Regions from separate parts of the Homo sapiens genome. Here region 1 is linked to region 2. Evidence: promoter capture Hi-C in 16 types of primary human blood cells and fetal thymus (Javierre and others, 2016). All regions are on one chromosome and are shown on one strand. Each heading gives the region's core, a stretch centred on a gene start or on the middle of the fragment in contact. The rest is flanking DNA. Distances are from core to core; before and after follow the strand shown. Region 1 overlaps CARMIL3 (capping protein regulator and myosin 1 linker 3). Region 2 holds the start of NYNRIN (NYN domain and retroviral integrase containing).

Region 1 (2,974 bases), core at 316-2,815, 330 kb before region 2:
AGCTCCCATGGGAGTCTCCATAACAGCAGTGCCCAAAGCCAGTCTCTGTGAGAAATTTCCCCACATTCTCATCCTTCCCCACCCAGCCCTCAGGGCCCATGACCTCTGCGTCTTCCCAGGACAGCTGGGAAGAATGGGGCCAGAGTGAACCACCACAGTGGGGTTGGAGAGCAGGTGTGGATGAGAGGGAGGTGGGGGGCAGCCCTGGGACAGGATACCCATTAGTGGTGAGAGGCCCGGGGGGTAGTGTTCCCTGTCACTGTCCTGCAGACTGCCCAGGGTCTGTCCAGGAGGAGCCAGGTCACTTGGAGAAGCTGAGAGGAGTTGCAGGGGAGGTGCCTGGGAAGAAACATCAGTCTGCGGGAAAGGCTGCTGGAGGATTACAACGGGACAGGAAAGGCAAGGGCATCATCTCCCTGAGAACTAAGTGGAAAGGGCTGCAGTGCAGCAGGGGAGACCAGATGAGAGGAAAGCAGGTTTATCAGACCCAGGATTGAGCTTGCATCTGGCATTTGTTGCTAACTTACCCCGATTCTCCCCAGCTACCCCCGGACTCTGAGGACCGTGCGGCCAGGACTCTCGGAGGCACCGCTGCCTCCACTCCAGAAGAAGAGGCGCCGGGGCCTGTTTCACTTTCGCCGGCCCCGGAGCTTCAAGGGGGACAGGGGGCCGGGGTCCCCTACCACTGGACTCCTCCTCCCTCCACCCCCACCCCCTCCCCCGACTCAGGAGAGCCCCCCTAGCCCAGACCCCCCAAGCCTCGGCAATAACTCCTCTCCCTGCTGGAGCCCAGAGGAGGAGAGCAGCCTCCTCCCTGGATTTGGTGGGGGCCGGGGACCTTCCTTCCGCCGGAAGATGGTAAGTGAGGCAGGGGGTGCTGTGTCTTCCCCTTTTCCTGCCCCACACTTAACCCAGTCTCCTACCCCACCCCAAGCTTAATGGGAGAATGCTAGGACCCAGGGTTCTTGGGAACATTGGTCATTTCAATTCTCCTCTCCTTGAGAGTGGACTAAGACCCAGTGGCCAAGAGCATGCTGGGAGTGCTATATGCGAATGCAGGCGTTGGAAGGACTCTTCAGAGGGTCTCTGCAGGGCTTCCCCGTGGCTAGGGACTCAGTGAGGCAGGGGTCCTCCTGACAACTCCCTCACAGCCTGGGGAGCCCCCTTCGACTGGGAACTGCTAATAAATAAGAGACCTTGTTCTAGGGCACTGAGGGGTCAGAGCCAGGGGAGGGGGGCCCAGCCCCTGGGACAGCACAGCAGCCAAGGGTTCACGGTGTTGCCCTTCCCGGGTTGGAAAGAGCCAAGGGTTGGAGCTTCGATGGGAAACGAGAGGTGAGTGGAGCCTGGGACAACAAACTGTGGGTCCTGAGGGTATCTGTCCACCACCCTCTCCTTCCCACTCCCTCATCCCTGGTGGTTCAGTAGAGAAAGCAGATGCTTTGGCATTAGAAGATGTTAGCTGCTCTTCAGCCCCCACCACACACTTGCCGTGGAGCCCTGGACTGGTCACTTCACCTCCTGAAACCTCTCCTTCTTTACTGTAAAATGAGGGGTTATAAAAATACTTACCTCTAGAGCTCTGTTTCCCAAACAATGGTGACTTGATTATAACCTTTGCGACTGATTTTTACCTGAATTATTACTTACATAGTATTTTTATTTAAATTAACTCACCTTTTTTTAACTTAGGCTAGACCTAGACATTATCTTTAAAATCGCAGGCTTTTTGAATGAGTCGTGTTTTTTTCTACTACATGTAAAATACATATGTAACTATAAAGATGGAAGTATACTCATTTGTGTAAGCCATTTCTTGTGCCCCTGGGGAGGTATGGGTGCCACTCTTTGGGAAACAGTTTTAAGTGTCTAGGGACTAATGACATGAGAATGACATGGAGATGCTAGAGCAGAAGCCCTTTGTCAGCTGCAGTCCTGCCACAGAGGAGACTTTCTTACAACCTGACCCACTGTTCTTTCAGGGCCCAGGCCCAGACCAGGAGGGCAGCACCCAGGCCTGGCAGAAACGGCGCTCTTCAGACGACGCAGGTAAGAACAGTCACATTCAAAGCCCTTTTGGACCCCTCTCTCAGGGGTCAAATTTACCTTTTCCCTTTCTCCTCTCTTTCTCATCCCCTCTCTCTACTCCAGGGCCTGGATCCTGGAAGCCCCCACCACCGCCCCAAAGCACCAAACCAAGCTTCAGCGCCATGCGCAGAGCAGAGGCCACATGGCACATAGGTATGGAAAGCCTCTTTTCAGGCAGCAGTACTGAAAGCCCAGGGTGTGTCCAAAGAAACAGAAGCCCATGGCCCCTGTGCTGGGGAATTTATGGCCAAGGTGGGGCAGTGAGAAGTCAACACAGTGAAAATGTTTAAGGATATTTACAAAGCTATATCCAAAAGAGACAAACAACCCAATCCAAAGAAAGCTTCTACAGAACAAAAGCGGCTTCTCCAGTGTTGGCAAACAGGAGCGATGCTTTGTGGATGGCTCTGGCGAATTCTCCAGGGCAGGTGCAGCCTCTGGTCACCATTGGCACAGTGGCAGCCTCTGTAGACAAGGCTCCTCTCTGCACCTTGCTGGGAAGAGGGTGGGCAAGTCAAACTGCCAGCAAGTACCAGCTGTGCCAGGCCCACCTCAGATTCCAGCCTCCTCCAGAAGTCGTTTATCAACTCACCCTCAGCTCACGCAGAAAGGTGCCCCAAACATGGGCAAGAGCTCGCCTCGGAGGTCAGAAACCTGCAGTATTAGTCCTTCTCAGCCACCCGCGACCTTAAACAAGTCATTTACTTTCTGGCCCCATGACCGGAGGAGTAAAAGGGAGGGGATTATCCCAGGCATGACACTTCCTTTCTGCTGGCTTCAGAGCACCTTCCGCTTAGGGAGCCACTAAAGAAAAGCTGGTCAGCTCAGCATTCGCTCAGTCCAGCAGTTGCCAAAGGCCTGGACCATGACCCTCCAGCAATATTGA
Region 2 (2,932 bases), core at 339-2,838:
GACCTCTTCTGACCCTCAACATGGCCTCTTTGAACATAGAATTAAACCCAGGAGTTCTCCATGAAGATGATCACCATGCCTGGGGTTCATGGTCTGATAGAGGAGGGCAGTAAGAGTTAAGTATTCATTCAGGGAAGGAGTGGGGAGCAGGGTTATGTGGCTCTCACCTTGTTTTGTAAGAGAAACTGAAGCACAATAAGGCAGGAGACTCTTTTGCTAAAAGGAGAGCAGTCAGAGGTGGAAAGAAGGCCTGAGATGGAGATTCAGCCCAAAGGCCTTCTGCTTCAAGGTACTAGAGAGGGGCAGGACAGGAGGACCAGGCAGGGTGGAGCAGAAGGCTTTGGAGCCAGAAGTAACACAGATCATTTTTTCCTTTTCTGGATTCCAATCTAGGGAGAAGAATCAGGTGTGCAGGATGAAGTAGGGTGTGGTGGGCTGAGTCCAGTCCAGACCAGGAGTAGCGTGAGCCCCTCCCTGCCCCCAATTGGGCCCCTTCCTTGCAGTGGGGTGCTCCTGGTCCCTTGCCTGCACACAAACACATAACGACCCTGCAGACCAGATGTTCCAGGGCAGGCCTAATTTAAAGTCTGATGCCTTTTGACCTCATAGGTATACTTGTGTCTATCAGACTGTGGCTCTTCGTTTTAGTCTGCAAAATAAGATCATTGAGGCCGAGACATAGGCCCTGCCCTCCACAGGGCCAGGTTCTATTCAGGCCCAAGGCTGTATAAGGTGTTCTTTGTGCTGGGGATGTGAGCAGAGCCTGGGTGTTGAAGGTGGTCCCCTAGCCCAGGGTTAGTCCCAGACCACTGATGCCAATTGGCTGACTGGTCAGGGGTTGCAGGAGACCTCGGAGGTTACATTACTGCCCGGACCCTCTATCTCCTTCCCCTCACAGCATAACTCAAACGTGCTAAAAAGGGCTTTCATAAACAACTCAAGTCTGAAAACTCTGGCAGCTCTCCCGCCCCTCCAGCCCTGGGGGGCTTCAGGAGGGTCTGGGCTGCCCGCCAGCTCCAAGCTGTCCCTAGACTTCAGTGGGGGGTGGGGAGTCAGTGCTGTTACCCTTTCCTTCCTGCTTGGTCTCCAGCCCAGAGTTTCCTTAGGCCCCGGCCTCCCTGGGCTCCCCACCCTACTCTACCTTAACCCTTTCCTCCCAGGGAAGGAGTGGCCGAGGTCCCCGTTCTCTTGGGACGCCTGGGAGAGGCTGTTGGGGGTAGGGGGGAGGTGGGGGTAAAGGGGAGAGATCCTTGTTCCAAATCTCAAAAAAGGGTGCCGGAAACCAATCCTCCCCTCCTTCCTCTTCCCCGTCCTTCCACTAGCAAGAGGGGAACGTGGAAGGAAACTAACTTTGACCCCTGGATTCTGGCTCTGGGCCCAAAACTTGGGTGGAAGGCAGAGGCCTCCGGGACCCTCCCCGCCCCCTCCTCCCCCCCGCCGGCTCCCCCGCCCTCTCCTCCGCGCCCCTTTAAGCTATCCAGCAGACGGAGACAGAGTTGATCCAGGAGGGGCTGGCAGAGTGCTGGAGGGGGAAGGCTGGGGGCGGAGGGAAGGGCGGCAGGAGCCCGACCGGTCCCACCCCTAGCTACAACCCCGGGCAGGAAGAGCTCGTCGCGGTAGCAGCGGTCGAAGGGGACCAAGCTCCAGAGGGCGGGCGCCCGAGCCGTGCGGGGTGGGTCCCGCCGCCTGGAGGAAGGAGGCCGTGCGGGGGGCGCGCCGCGGGGAGGAGGGGGCGTGGCTTAGGCGCCTGGGGCTGGGGGCTGGGGCGCCTGCCGCCCCGAGACCCGGGTGACACTATCGTCTCCTTCGTTCCAGGAGCGGGCGGGGCAGCCATGCTCCTGTCTGGGGGCGATCCTCCGGCGCAGGAATGGTTCATGGTGCAGACAAAATCGAAGCCTCGGGTGCAGCGGCAGCGGCTGCAAGTGCAGCGCATCTTTAGGGTCAAGCTGAACGCCTTCCAGAGCCGCCCGGACACCCCCTACTTCTGGCTACAGCTCGAGGGGCCCCGAGAGAACATGGGCAAAGCCAAGGTAAACAGCTTCTCCCCACCCCCACCCATCTCTTCCAGCCAGATCACTCTCTCCCCTTCCCCTGGGGAGATGGTGGTCCGCAGAGACACCACCCACCCTGCCCCCGCCTGGATTTGGCAGTGTGGCAGGCAGGTAGTGGGCCATCCTCCTGCCTCGCCAGATCAGCCTGCGCTCCTTCCATGCCCGCTTCTTCCCTCTGGTTCCTTCCTTTCCTGCCCCACCCCTTCCCTACGTGTCACCTCTGTCCCTCAAGTGCACTGAGAGCACCTCCTCGGTGTGTGTCCCCCATGAGACTTCCCTGGCCAGGGCCCCAGCATCAGCAGTCCCACTTTTCCATCTGGGGAGCAACTCAAGGCGCTGTATTTCTGTGGCCTCTGCAACACACCTCTTTGTTCTCCACCAAGACTGAAAGGCCCAGGTCCTTCTGTCTCCTTTTAAGTCTCCTTAAATCCTGGGCTGCCCCTTGGAGCCTCTGAGTACTAGGACTGGAGGGGCCTTTAGAGATGCTTCTAGAGTGATACTGGCATTTTACAGATGAGGTACTGGTGGCCAGAGAGGGTAAGGGGCCTGGCTGAGTGCTCAGAGTCAGGTAGGTGAGGTGGTGGGGGTTGGACCAGAACCCAGGGCTCTGGGCTCCCTGCCCCACACTCTTGATGCCACTCAGCTTCTTGCAGGGGTTCAGAGTGGGGTGCAGCCCTCTTCCCAGATTCCCAGCCCTTGGAGATGGGTGGGAGTCTGGGAGGAGGGCTATGGGTTTTCAGATGAAAGGGCTTGCTATGTGGGGCTGGACCTTGGACAGGCCAGATCACAGTGCGCCTCTCTTGCAATCTCCCTGGCTTCTCTCACAAGCTTTTCCTCCCCTTGGGCCTGTCAGATTCCACTGTCCCCCAAGGTTTACCTCT

The links. The method cuts DNA at HindIII sites, captures the fragments that hold promoters and counts their contacts. A CHiCAGO score of 5 or more calls a contact.
Region 1: a contact is called between a fragment that was not itself captured here and the fragment with the promoter of NYNRIN in region 2, in 2 of 17 cell types (activated CD4 T cells and neutrophils). The highest score is 7.0, in activated CD4 T cells.

What each region holds. Positions count from the first base shown.
Region 1 is chr14:24,064,416-24,067,389 of GRCh38, forward strand. CARMIL3 (capping protein regulator and myosin 1 linker 3) reads left to right here. Exons shown (of 40, transcript NM_138360.4): 33 at 543-858; 34 at 1,207-1,335; 35 at 1,983-2,049; 36 at 2,152-2,241. LOC105370412 (a long non-coding RNA gene) reads right to left here. Exons shown (of 2, transcript XR_943619.2): 1 at 2,681-2,974; 2 at 2,369-2,582. Among named protein-coding and RNA genes, the nearest start is that of CPNE6, 5.7 kb to the right of the region's middle. The HindIII fragment of the contact is 1,266 bases long and covers 933-2,198 here.
Region 2 is chr14:24,397,415-24,400,346 of GRCh38, forward strand. NYNRIN (NYN domain and retroviral integrase containing) reads left to right here and starts at 1,589. Exons shown (of 9, transcript NM_025081.3): 1 at 1,589-1,672; 2 at 1,816-2,030. The coding sequence starts at 1,833. RefSeq lists a silencer at 1,643-1,732. The HindIII fragment of the contact is 6,271 bases long and covers 1-2,877 here.